Regions from separate parts of the Homo sapiens genome. Here regions 1 and 2 are each linked to region 3. Evidence: promoter capture Hi-C in 16 types of primary human blood cells and fetal thymus (Javierre and others, 2016). All regions are on one chromosome and are shown on one strand. Each heading gives the region's core, a stretch centred on a gene start or on the middle of the fragment in contact. The rest is flanking DNA. Distances are from core to core; before and after follow the strand shown.

What was found. Contacts are between HindIII fragments. The CHiCAGO score rates a contact against its expected background, and 5 or more counts as called.
Region 1: a contact is called between a fragment that was not itself captured here and the fragment with the promoter of USP10 in region 3, in 1 of 17 cell types (neutrophils). The highest score is 5.8, in neutrophils.
Region 2: a contact is called between a fragment that was not itself captured here and the fragment with the promoter of USP10 in region 3, in 10 of 17 cell types (monocytes, neutrophils, non-activated CD4 T cells and 7 more). The highest score is 9.0, in monocytes.

Annotation. Positions count from the first base shown.
Region 1 is chr16:84,991,521-84,995,951 of GRCh38, reverse strand. ZDHHC7 (zDHHC palmitoyltransferase 7) reads left to right here. Exons shown (of 8, transcript NM_017740.3): 2 at 1-30. Among named protein-coding and RNA genes, the nearest start is that of ZDHHC7, 18 kb to the left of the region's middle. RefSeq lists an enhancer at 831-1,331. The HindIII fragment of the contact is 8,914 bases long and covers 1-4,431 here.
Region 2 is chr16:84,974,535-84,979,061 of GRCh38, reverse strand. ZDHHC7 (zDHHC palmitoyltransferase 7) reads left to right here. Exons shown (of 8, transcript NM_017740.3): 6 at 1,057-1,138; 7 at 1,837-1,967; 8 at 2,543-4,527. The coding sequence ends at 2,719. Among named protein-coding and RNA genes, the nearest start is that of ZDHHC7, 35 kb to the left of the region's middle. RefSeq lists an enhancer at 1,532-2,731. The HindIII fragment of the contact is 645 bases long and covers 1,330-1,974 here.
Region 3 is chr16:84,697,775-84,701,975 of GRCh38, reverse strand. USP10 (ubiquitin specific peptidase 10) reads right to left here and starts at 1,976. Exons shown (of 14, transcript NM_005153.3): 1 at 1,865-1,976. The coding sequence starts at 1,885. RefSeq lists silencers at 1,405-1,514, 1,555-1,664, 1,675-1,894, 1,985-2,504. The HindIII fragment of the contact is 5,859 bases long and covers 1,176-4,201 here.

The DNA.
Region 1 (4,431 bases), core at 491-2,990, 290 kb before region 3:
TTCAAGTGATGTTTAGAAATAACTTGTGAGGTAAGAGTGTGATTATTTAGGGTCCAATCACTGTTTCCTTTCTCACAGCTGACACTAGCTTGTATATTACTAAAAAGGTAACCTGTGCATGTGGCAAAGCAGAGGCGTGGTGCCAAGCTGACAGGCACGCCTTCCTTTTCACCCGCTGCCTTCCGGTCCTAAAAGGAGGGTGTATCTGTGGAGGGGACTCCATGAATTGAATTGATGAGTTCTTGGCCAGTATCACAAGATGAGGGGAATACCCCGCTTTCCACCTGAAATGGAAAGTGGTTTGGTTTTTTTTGTCTGTTTTTTTTGAGATGGAGTCTCAGTCTGTTGCCTAGGCTAGAGTGCAATGGCGTGATCTTGGCTCTCTGCGACCTCTGTCTCCCAGGTTCAAGTGATTCTTCTGCCTCAGCCTCCCTAGTAGCTGGGATTACAGGCACCCGCCATCATGCCCGGCTAATTTTTATATTTTTGGTAGAGACGGGGTTTCACCATGTTGGCCAGGCTGGTCTTGAACTCCTGACCACAAGTGATCCACTCGCCTTGGCCTCCCAAAGTGCTGGGATTACAGGCGTGAGCCACTGTGCCCGGCCTGAAACGGAAAGTTTTTGCTTGTGTGGTTGTCCCTTTAAATATGGAGATTTGTAGTGTTGCTTTTGGTGTTCTGGGAAACAGGGCTTTATTTAACATGCCGAGAAAGAGCTTAGGTTCGGGAGTGTTGAGAAAATCCCATTAAATCGGCCATTAGGGTAGAAGAGTGATGCTGGGGCATCTGTGTGAGAGTGCCCAGTGTTTCACGGTTCCCTCAGAAACTGTCTTGAGTATGAAGTCAACGGTGGTTTTGGAATTCAGTGCAGAATAAGGCTGTGCCCTTGCTCCTAAGGAATGTGTACATTTTAATACCGCATCTCAAATGGCTGTGCTGTTTGCTTTTAGATTAGCTTCCATGTAAAGGAATGGTTTCTTCATTTCTTCCCCTCCCTTCCTGTTGCATTACTCAAGTGTAAATACAGTGACTCAGAGACACGAGTGAGTGCACTGTGTTACTGAGAGCTGTATTTGTCCAGCCTAACTTTGCTATATTCGTTTGTTGCTTTGTTGAAAATAAAGCAGTTTTTGGATTTCATGTTATTTTCCTGTTGACTTCTAATGGATCTTACAGATATGGCACTAAAGCCCTCAAGTATGATATGTCACCCTAATATGTGCTTATAGGAACGTCCTGCCATGGCCAGTGTTTGGTGTCTGTGGGCGCTCTCCTTACACAGCTGTGCCTGCCATCCGCACCCCCAGGTCAGGCATGGAGCCACAGCAGCATCCTGCACTCCGTGGAGGTCTTACCAGGACCTGAACCAGGAAGGCGGAGCTGAGCTGGCTCAGGTGTCACATGTGTGCCTTTAGAAGACTTTCAAGAGGCCCTGCTTTCTGGAGAGAGCTCAGACTGCCCAAACATTGTGCTCTGACAAAAGTATAGCTTGTTTTACTGCCTGGAAAGCACCCTTCCTTTTCTCATGGAACGTGTCCTATTAGAGAAGTCACCATAAAGCAAAATGGTTCTGCTCAGAGGAATTTTTCAGCTTACGGCCTTGATGTACCTGGGCCCACAGATAACGATTCACCAAGAAACTTAGATGGAAATCAGCAGGAGGTGATTGGAATCTGAGAGAGGGACTGCTTGCTTTTTGTTGCATCTGCCTTTTAGCAAACATGCCCTTGCTGTGCGCCAGACAGCATGCAAGGCATGAGGGGGACAGGGCAGGAGGAGACCCAGACCCCCCTGGAGGGGCTGACATCAGGCCGGGAGGTCGGACCTGCAAGAGCTCTCAGGTAGCAAGTGGTAAGTACCTGGGAGGGAGAGCTGGTGAGCGTGCCCAGGGCTTCAGCGGAGGCAGAGAAACTTCCAGGTACTTTCTCAGCCCCCTGACAGTCAGGCTTTACTAGTAGTGCAGGCAGAAGCAGTTTCAGCCTTTATCTCCGGATAGTCACATCTGATGTCTAGAGACCTCTTCGCAAAGTGCTCCTCAGAAGAAGAGAACTCCCTTTTCAGGTTGGCTTGCCTAGAAGAGAGAAAAGTTAGGCCCTGCAGGGTGAATGAGGTTTATGTAGAGGCAATGGTGCTGCAAAGGTGTTTGCAGGGGATGTTGAGCAGACAGATGCAGAAGATGTAGGTTCAGAAAATGCTGAAGGAATGGTTGGCTAAGGGGTCTGTCCAAATTCTTTTGATCTTTAGTTTTTTCTATTTCACTCAAATGATTATTTTTAAAAGTTTTTTTAATTAAAACAATTTTTTTGACATTGGGTCTTACTTACTCTGTTGCCCAGGCTGGACTGCAGTGGTGGGATTGTGGCTCACTGTAGCCTCAACCTGCCAGTCTCATGCGATCCTTCCACGTCAGTCCCCCAAACAGCTGGGACTATAGGTGTGTGCCACCATGCCTGACTATAAAAAAAAAAAACAATTTTGTTTTGTAGAGATTGGGTCTTCCCATGTTGCGCAGGCCAGTCTCAAACTCCTGGGCTCAAGAGATCCTCCCACCTTGGCCTCCTAAAGTGCTGAGATTACAGGTGTAAGCCACCACACTCAGCCTTAAGCATGTATTTATTTATTTTTATTTTTTGAGACAGGATCTCTCTGTCATCCAGGCTGGAGCGCGGTGGCATGATCATGGCTCACTGCAGCCTCCACCTCCCAGGCTCAAGCAATCTTCCCCCCTCAGCCTCCCTAGTAGGGGGGACTATAAGCGCAAGCCACCATGCCTGGTTAATTTTTATTTTCTGTAGAGATGAGGTCTTACTCTGTTGCCCAGGCTGATCTCAAACTTCTGGGCTCAAATGATCCTTCTGCCTCAGTCTCCCAAGTGCTGACTTGAGCCACTGCACCCAGCCTTAAACATTTTTTAAAGCTGCTTTTATCTGATTGAAAAATAGGGCTATTTTACTGACTTTGGAAAACAATTTCATTTTGCTCTTGTACCAGTCAGCATTTTTGCATCGAGAGGAAATTTTTTAAAGTATTTGGCGAATGAATCCTCACCACATGTTCATTCGGCAAATGTTTTCATAATTGCTATGTTCCAGTTGCATTTAAGAAAAGAAAAAGTCACACCCAGATTTGAAAAACAGCACCCAGTGCTGTTACTCAGTTGTAGTGACCTGACCTCTGAGAACATTCTTACTACACTCCTTTATTCACATTTCAGAAGCCATGGTTTCTGCACTCTGCCTGCTTAAAATATGAGGAGCGCTCCTGCTCTGAGAAGGTGCCCGGGTCAGTTCGTTAAAATATTTGTCAGTATTTTCTCCTCATGGCAAAGCTAGGTGAAATTGACTGTCTCTTCCTTTCCCTGGCTCTTTATCTGTGATATTACAACTCTCAGAGCAAACACCGATAAGAGAAGGGCGTACAATCAAAGAAGCAGTCAAAACAGTTACCAGGAAAAGTGCACTTTTTTCTTTTTGTTTCTGGAGAGGGAGTGTCACTCTGTCACTAGGCTGGAGTGCCGTGGTACGATCTCGGCTCACTGCAACCTCCACCCCCCGGGTTCAAGCAGTTCTCCTGCCTCAGCCTCCTGAGTAGCTGGGATTACAGGTACAGGCGCCTGCCACTGTGCCCGACTAATTTTTATATTTTTAGTAGAGACGGGTTTCACCAGCTTGGCCAGGCTGGTCTTGAACTTGTAACCTCGTGATCCACCGGCCTCTGCCTCTGAAAGCGCTGGGGTTACAGGTATGAGCCACCCGCACCTGACCCACTTTTTTCTTTTCTTTTCTTTTTTTTTTTGAGACTGAGTCCAGTGCAGTGGCGTGATCTCAGCTCACTGCAACCTCCGCCTCCCAGGTTCAAGTGATTCTCCTGCCTCAGCCTCCCGAGTAGCTGGGATTACAGGCGCACGCCACCATGCCCGGCTGGTTTTTGTATTTTTAGTAGAGACGGGGTTTCACCATGTTGACCAGGCTGGTCTCAAACTCCTGACCTCCCAAAGTGCTGGGATTACAGGCATGAGCCACTGTGCCCGGTCCTACTTTTTTCTTTAGTTTCTTTAGATCTTGTATGTTCTTAGAAATCAGATGCTATTGGAAATAGGGAAGAAGTGTCAAAATGATGGCTTGCAAAAGAATGGATTAATAAATGAAGGAAAGGCTGGGCATGGTGGCTCTACCTGTAATCCCAGCACTTTGGGAGGCTGAGGCAGGAGGATTGAGCCCAGGAGTTCCAGAGCAGCCCAGGCAACATAGTCAGACCTCATCTGTGAGCTGTGATTGTGCCACTGCACTCCAGCTTGGGCAACAAAGGGAGACTGTGTTCCCAAAACAACAAAAACAGGAAACTTTTAAAAGATTAAAATAGAGGCCGGGTGCAGTGGCTCATGCCTGTAATCCCAGCACTTTGGGAGGCCGAGGCAGATGGATCACCTG
Region 2 (4,527 bases), core at 403-2,902, 280 kb before region 3:
TTATAATACTGTGCTGTCATTGGCAGGAAGTAGTCCCAATAAGTAATATGTTGCTTGTATTATTTTAGGTGTTCACTGTAATTTAATTCTCTCCCAGATGTCCTCAATCGCTATTGTTTATTAATAATAACAGGAATCTTCCTAAAGTATGTTAGAGTTTATTTCCTTTTTCTTTTCTTTTTTTCTTTTTTTTTTTTTTGAGATGGAGTTTTGCTCTTGTTGCCCAGGCTGGAGTGCAGTGGTGTGATCTCAGCTCACTGCAACCTCCGCCTCCCAAGTTCAAGTGATTCTCTTGCTTCAGCCTCCCAAGTAGCTGAGATTACAGGCATGTACCACCACGCCTGGCTAATTTTGTATTTTTCGTAGAGATGGGGTTTCTCCATATTGGTTGGGCTGGTCTTGAACTCCCGACCTCAGGCGATCCGCCCACCTCGGCCTCCCAAAGTGCTAGGATTACAGTCGTGAGCCACCGTGCCCGGCCGTTTATTTTTTTATAGACGGGGTTTTGCTGTGTTGCCCAGGCTGGTCTTAAACTCCTGAGCTCAAGCCATCTGCCCGTCTTGGCCTCCCAAAGTGCTGGGATTACAGGCGTGAGCCACCATGCCCAGCTATATTTTTCTATAAAATTATTCTACTTGGTCTAATATGATCTTGGGTAGGAAAATGTCAACTGCTGCCATTTAATCCTTCCCTCATTTTTTTCTCTGACAAGATGGAGGTATACACATGATGTGTCATCAGCCTTTGCTCTTAGAAAGACTTGTTTAAGTTACTAACTGGCTGGGTGGATCACTAGAGGTCAGCAGTTACAGACCAGCCTGGCCAACATGGTGAAACCCCATCTCTACTAAAAATGCAAAACAGTTAGCCGGGCATGGTGCTTGTAGTCTCAGCTACTTGAGAGGCTGAGGCAGGAGAATCGCTTGAGTCTGGCAGGCGGAGGTTGCAGTGAGCTGAGACTACGCCGCTGCATTCCAGCCTGGACAACAGAGGGAGACTCTGTTTCTAAAAAAAATAAAAAATAAAAGTGACTAACCAATCTCCCCCTCATTCTAGATGTATATAGCTCTGTCTTCAGTCCATGCTCTGATCCTTTGTGGATTTCAGTTCATCTCCTGTGTCCGAGGGCAGTGGACTGGTAAGTTCCCTGGCTATGTGTCATTCCTGGCTTTGCATGCTGTTATTGGATGAAAGGGGAAAGCTTTAAAGGAAGAACCAGTTTTCCAATTTTGAAGGAAATCATTGCAATTATTTTAGCAATTGAATTTTAAAGAATTTAGTTAAGTTTTAACACCACCATTTTACTAGTATATTGTTGCCCCAAAAGCTTGTGTCTGTCTGCTGGTCAGCTAGCTCGCCATTGTTCAAAGCAGGCTTCACGTTGCTTACGTGAGTGACCGACCCTAAGCAAGTGTAGTGAAAATAGGTGCTCGTTATCCTACCTTAGATATGCAGTGAGGTCTGGACAGGCTCATCCCACCCCAGGGGAACATGGTGAACAGACTCCTGTGAGCACTGCTCACTGGTATGGGTGCACACAACTCTTCTGGTCTGGCTTCATTTGCCATTTAATTCATAAATACAGTGTCAATAGAAACCTCAGAAAATACAGACTCTTTTGAAACCACTGGCCAGGAAGTCATGGTATGAATTTTTGCTTGGAAGGGTGGCCCTCCTCTGCTCCTTGGAGAACAATGAATGTGCCCATTTAGAAAGTGAACAACTTCCCCCTGGAAGCTGGCCAGGGGCTGGCCCTAGAGGATTCTTCTCTGAGCCAAACATTCTGCCACTCGGGGTATTCAGGACCAGTTATAACCAACTTCCTCTTGTCCGCAGAATGCAGTGATTTTTCACCTCCGATAACTGTAATCCTGTTGATCTTCCTGTGCCTTGAGGGTCTTCTGTTTTTCACTTTCACTGCAGTTATGTTTGGCACCCAAATCCACTCCATATGCAACGACGAGACGGTAAGCTTTGTTCTCGGCTGTGTGGACTTCATATGTGGTCCAAGCTTGAGTAAATGAAAAGTCCTAATGTCAACAATAGGTGCCTGTGGACTGACTCGGGAACGTAATGGGACGGTCTTGATGAGCTGCAACCAGCTCCCTGTGTTTGCTGTTTCTTTCATTCTGGGCAGTGCATATTTCTAGTCTCAGTTTGATTTGCAAGTCAGCAGAGCCAGGCAGATTCCCAGCTCCCAGTGCAGTCAGTAAATTTCAGGGAACTGACTGCCTTTAGGGCCTGGCTCTGCAGGCCTGGAGTGGCGCTCAGTAAATGTCTGTACACAGTAACTAACGAGCGACAAATGTTGGTGCCTGGCTGGGAGGGCCATTGTGGTAGTCTGGGCTGGCCACGTGGCTGCAGCCGGGCTGGGCTCACAGAGGCCACGGGGTCTGGATCGGGGCAGAGCTGGGAAGGAGAGTTCACTCACCTACCCTCCATCGAGCCCACACTGTGCTTGAGCACGGTGTGATTCTGAGGCTTGGTGGGGTCTGCCGAGCTTCCTGGAGCCGCTGCCACTTGCTTTTCTTTCTGCTTCCAGGAGATCGAGCGATTGAAAAGTGAGAAGCCCACATGGGAGCGGAGGCTGCGATGGGAAGGGATGAAGTCCGTCTTTGGGGGGCCCCCCTCACTCCTCTGGATGAATCCCTTTGTGGGCTTCCGATTTAGGCGACTGCCCACGAGACCCAGAAAAGGTGGCCCGGAGTTCTCAGTGTGAGGCGTGGCTCATCAGACTGAAACTTGCTCACAGACTTCCAGTTATTTATTTGGGGTCTGAAGGATATCAACAGCTCATCTGTGACCAACAGGGCAACTGGAACCTACACAAACCAATTGCTTGCAGCAAGCAGAGTTTTATATATTTATAGTCACAGATGGCAGAGGAAGAGGCTCTCAGTCCCCACCTGTACAACAACGGAAAGGTGTGTGGCCACACGAAGAAGCCAAACGCCGTGGCCTCCTGCAGAGCTGGGGCTTCTGTGGAGAATACTTCGGGTTATTACATGGGTTATTCAAATCCTGGGTCCTGAGCTGCTGTTTCCAATCATGAAGAAAAACAGTGAATCCAGTGAACAGGGATTCTCCAAGCAGTCATTTCAGGGGGCTCCTGCTGACCCCGCCACTCAGCAGTGCACTCCCCGGATCACAGCAGGGCGTTTACATAGAAAGACGTTTTGGTCTCGATTAGCTCCGATGCTTTGCACTGAAGTTGCAAAAGATCTGTGCACTGAACAGTGAAGGTGGCTTCCGGCACACTCCCCGCTGCCCCGGAAGAGACATCCTTTGACCCTCTCAGCAAGTCTGTGTGTGTGCGTGTCTGTGCGTGTGCGCGCGTGTGTGCATGTGTGTCAAAATTGCCAGTGTTGTTTAGGCAATGTAACATTTACCGGCTGTGTACAGCAAACAAGCTATTTTTTAGAAACCGACGTTTCAGGGAAGAGGGGAGAGAGCCGCGGGGTCCTGCCCGTGGTTACTATGAATGTATTGCTGTTGGAGGACATCTCGATCCAAAGAACAGCCGTTCCTGTGCGGCCCTTCGTTGCCCTCCTGCTTTCATTTTTTAAAGAAATCTTGAGTGCTTGAGGGCCTTGGAACTGATTTTTTTTTTTTGTTCCAGCCAAATTAGCAGTGTATAAATGGCACCTAGGTAAGAGCAGAGCTGCGGCTCGGTGACTTGATACTTGGGGCAGCCCGATGCTGTGTGTGGGGCAGGGGAGGCATCCTTACTGGAGAGGCAGGGCCCAGCCATTGGGCACCTCTGGGAAGGGGAGGGGACCATGAGGCAGCCAGCCCCTGGCAGGGGCGACTGTGCCACCGCAGGCAGCGCTCCAGTCGGGAATGGCCAGGATGGCGCCCTCTTGTTGGAGTTTTTGGTTAGCTTTTACGTTTTCTTCTCCACCCACGGCACAGGTGATAAAATAGGATCCTTGGTGCGGAGCTTAAAATTATGCCAGAAAGCCAACAGCTCCCCTCGTGGGGCCTTGCCTTAAACTTGCCTGGTTTGTACATTTTTTGCCGGACGCATCAAGAAGCAATCTGTGACAAAGTCTGAGGGTCTTCCTTTATGCTTGCCCTCCACACTAAGAGAAGTTGGCGTCTCCCTCCTGGGAATTGTTTTGCCTTTCTGTTCATCTGTGAACTGTTTTTTGTTTTTAATTACTCTGTACCCCATCCGAATCAGGGCTTCTACCACTGCTGATGCAAAACCACAAAGGGACCTACCTGAGCCACCGTCCTAGCCAAGCGAGCAAACCTGCAGGGGGTTTGGAAGTGGACTTGGTCACCGCAGAAGCGTGTGCGCCGTTGGGGGAAGAGCTGCGTCACAGCCAGAGGGACAAAGTGTGGGTGATCCTGGAGACGCCAGTTTCCGAGATTGTTCTGCATATTCATTTGCACATTGTTGTCTGGGTTGGACATGCGTGTGGGCTTCAGTGTGAGGCTTTTAATATGTATATCCTGTTATCAATAAAACAATTATCCAAGTGGTTGAATCCTGTGAGACTTGGCAAGTGTGTGCAAATCAAG
Region 3 (4,201 bases), core at 727-3,226:
ACAAGAGCCAAATTCCAACTCAAAAAAAAAAAAAAAAAGAAGAAGAAAATTATGAGAAATCAAACTATTTCCTTTGCTACTTTCTCCATGCTAAAACTTAAAAGCATTTAAATCATACTTTAAAAGAATAAACCCAAAGTGTTGCTAACATTTACGTTCCGCCAACTTTTGCTACTCCAATTTTCTAAAGATGTGTATAACGCTTTAGACTGTTGTATAAAACGTAAATACTGGGACAATGAATGCAAACGAAATTACAATTAAGTTTACATATTATCCATCCCCATTAATTAACATTTCAATCAACCTTGAATTGTGATTGATGCTTATTAAATAAAGGAAGTGAGCTATGCCTAAAGATGCTTTCTTCATGTCAAAATCACAAGGAATATTACACATTAATTCATAATGAGCCTTTTACTTGTTCATACCAATTCTAATAAGCTAGTTAATTAGGATTTAAGTTGAGAAAAAAGCAAATATCAAATCTTTTTTTTTAACAGAAAGGTCTAAACAAAGCTAAATACACCAAATCTCTTAAAATCTTTGGGCTATACATTTGTAAAAATTATTCAACTACTGATCCCTTTTTTGGCGCAAAGACCTACACTACTTACAAAAGTAAATGAATAAGGGAACAAAACGTTAAAGGGGGAAATTCTGATGCAAACTAAACTACAGCTAATTTAACAAAATTGAAGCTTGTCGTAAGATCTAATTTTTTAAAAAGTTTTCGCATTTTAGATTCCACAACACGCATTCATTACAATAGTTCCGAAAATCATGTTTCAAAAGAGGTGTAGTCAGATTGACTTCATCTGCAGAAGGGCAACAAAACCCAATTGCTCATGAAGGGTTATGATTTTACTCGCAATCAGTTTCCCGAATGGCTACTTTGTTTCATTTCCCCATATTTAATACAAATACACAATGAGATGGTTTAAAAGTGTGCAACAATTTATAGGGACCAGATGTCAACAAATTAGCAGTCTAAAGCAAGGCTGACAAATAATACATCATGCCGATTTTTGTCCAGAATAATTATAATGGCGGAGGGGGGAGAAGATGTGAGAGAAGGGGTGGGAGAGGGGAATAAGAGCTTAACTCTACACGCACATCTCCCAAAAAGAGCTCTTTCTTTCCACCACGGGATTATTGTAAAGGGCCCCCAAGCTTTAGCTACTGTTCAGGCAGGGTGCGTTAGTTGTCAGCCTGGCTGGGATGGATTCGTGCAAGGGATGTCACTCAAACGCAAGTGAAAGTACGGTCCTTGCGACTTATTTCGAGTTTTCTTTGCAACAGCAGCCCAAGGCCGCTACTCTGCTACTTCTATCTAAAAAACAGAAAATCGGCAACCCCCGCATCATCAATCAAGCTGAGAAAGGAAGCTCTTGGGGCAAAGGGGCAACAGGGCACCCCCAAATCTCTGAGGCTCGCTCCAGGCAGAGGCAGCAACCTGAGCTGCTCTGGGGCCCCTGCGCTCCAGGGGACTCCCGGAGCCCCCGGGCCGCCTCCCCCGGCCGGCGCGGCGGGGAGGGCCCCACTCCACACCCCGGGCTCGCCCCGCGGTCCAGCCCCAGGGAGGTTAACCCCTTCGGCGCCCTCCACGCCCTCCCCAAGCGGGGCCCGGAGCCCCCGCCCTTCGACCTCCCCGGGACTAGGGGGTCCGGGTGGCTCAGGGGACGAAGGCGCGGCGGGCGCGGAGGCGGCGGGTGGCTCCGGCCTAGGCCCGGGCAGCGTGTCCCAGCGCCCTCCCCCACTCCCACACGCTCGCTCCGGGCAGGGCGCGGACGCCCGCCCGCCGCGGCGTCCGCCCGCCCGGGGCTCGGGCCCCTTCCGGCCGAAGGCGCAGACCGGCGGCTACCTGCGGGCTGTGGAGGGCCATGGCTGCCCGTTTCATTGGGACTCCGCGATCCTCCGGCTGCTCACGCTGCTTCCCCCGCCGCCGCCATCTTCTCGCCCGCACATACACACTCGCATCGGCCGCCGCGCCTGCGCACTGGCCGCGCGCCGCGGGGCGCGGGGAGGCCGGCCCGCTGCTGCGCCTGCGCGGCCGACAGGTGGGCGTGCGCCTGCCGGGCCGCGGACATCCCCTGCCCCGCCTGGAGCCTGCCGGACTCTGAGCCCCGCGACCCTCGGGCGGAAGCGGCCGGGCGGCTGCACACCAGGAGCCCGCCGAGGCCTGGCTGTGGATCCGGAAGGGGAGAGGGCAGGCAGGTAGAGGTGGCAACGCCAAGGCGCCGGCGGGCCCGGCTCCTCACCTACTGGGGGCCACCTGGGCCCCCGGAGCCCGGGAGTCGCGGGCTGAGGTCGGCCTGGGGCCCACGAGCCGCCCTCAGCGTACCTGGGCCCGGGCCTCGGGAGTGTTCGCATTAGATCCCCGAGGAGGGTCTGGTTTATGAAGATCCCGTTGCCGCGCATTCATTCATTTGTTCACTCTTCATTCACTCCCCAAGTCCTGCCTGGGCGCCTGGGCCACGCCTTTGGCTAGGCATTAGGGGAAAAAAGCAAAACAGACAAAAACAAAACGTAGGGCATAAAAGCACGCGTAAAGTGCTTGACATGAGGCCTGGCAAGTAGCAAACACTCAGCAAGTGCTACGTGTTGCACACGTGCGTGCGTGTGCACGGGCAAACCAGCCTTGGGGGTCGTTGGTTCATTCATTATTAAGAAACAGGGGCCCCTGCCTAACTGCACTGTTTTCCAGCCAGTGGGTCCACCCTTGGGTTTTGGCCCCTTTTCTAGCTGTGATTTCAGACAAGCGACTTTCCTTCCCTAAGCCTTGGTTTCCTCACCTGTGAATAAGACAAATATGTCATAACGCGTAAGATTTCTGTGAGGTTCAAATTAGATTAACGTGAGCACACTGGCCAAGAGAATAGTCAATAAAAATTGGCTACTGGGATTGTTATTAATAACCATTACTATTGGTTTCATTTATTCAACAAACACCTACAGAGAGTCTGCTCTTGCTAGACCGTACACTGAGCAGAGGAGATGAACAGGAAGATCCATTCCCACGTTACATAAAATAGGGAGCCTGGTCTCTTCATAAATGGGATGCCATGAAAAATATAAGTGGGCCAGGCGCAGCGGCTCACACCCGGAATCCCACACATTGGGAGGCCGAGGCGGGCGGATCACTTGAAGTCAGGAGTTGGAGACCAGCCTGGCTAATATGATGAAACCCCAACTCTACTAAAAATACAAAAATTGGTGGGATGTAGTGTGGCACACCAGGCGTCCCAGCTACTCAGGAGGCTGAGGTGGGAGGATCACTTGAACCCCGGAGACGGAGGTTGCGGTGAGCCGAGATCGTGCCACTGCACTCCAGCCTGGGTGACAGAGCGAGTCTCTGTCTCAAAAAAAAAAAAAGAAAGAAAGAAAGAAAGAAAAGAAAAGAAAAATATAAGTGGTAGGGAGGGGTTGTTCCAAAATAGAAGAGCTAGAAAACATAACCAAATACAATGTGTCATCTTGCTTGGATCCTGATATGTCTTTTAAGCTGGTTTTACTATTTGTTGACAATTGGAGACATTTGAATATGGATTGGATATGGGTGATCTTCGTGAATTATTGGTAATTTTATAGTGTAATAATTATACTGTGCTCACTGAGAGAATGTCCTTATTGTGAGGAGATGCATTCTGAAGAGTTGAGGAGTGAAGGCCATAATGCCTGTAAACTATTGTTTAATGGTTCAACAAAAGATAAAATCATGTACACACATAAACATTCAGGGAGAGACAGCAAATATGGCAAAATGTTTACTATTGTTGGCTCTAAGTAGTGCTATATATTTCAGCTTTTCTCTATGTTTGAAAATTTTTATAACAAAAAATTGGGGAAAACAATACAATATAGTGTCTGTGCTATAATTTTAACCATGGAAAAGCGATATCTGCACTTGGATAGAAACTGGGGGACGTGAAAACTCACTAGTGATTTATGGTTGTCTCTCTGGCTCGGTGCGGTGGCTCACACCTGTAATCTCAGCACTTTGGAAGGCTGAGGTGGGTGGATCACCTGAGGTCGGGAGTTCAAGACCAGCCTGATCAACATGGTGAAGCCCCGTCTCTACTAAAAATACAAAAATTAGTCGGGCGTGGTGGCAGGCGCCTGTAATCCCAGCTACTCAGGAGGCTGAGGCAGAAGAATCGCTTGAACCCGGGAGGCAGAGGTTGCAGTGAGCCGAGATGGC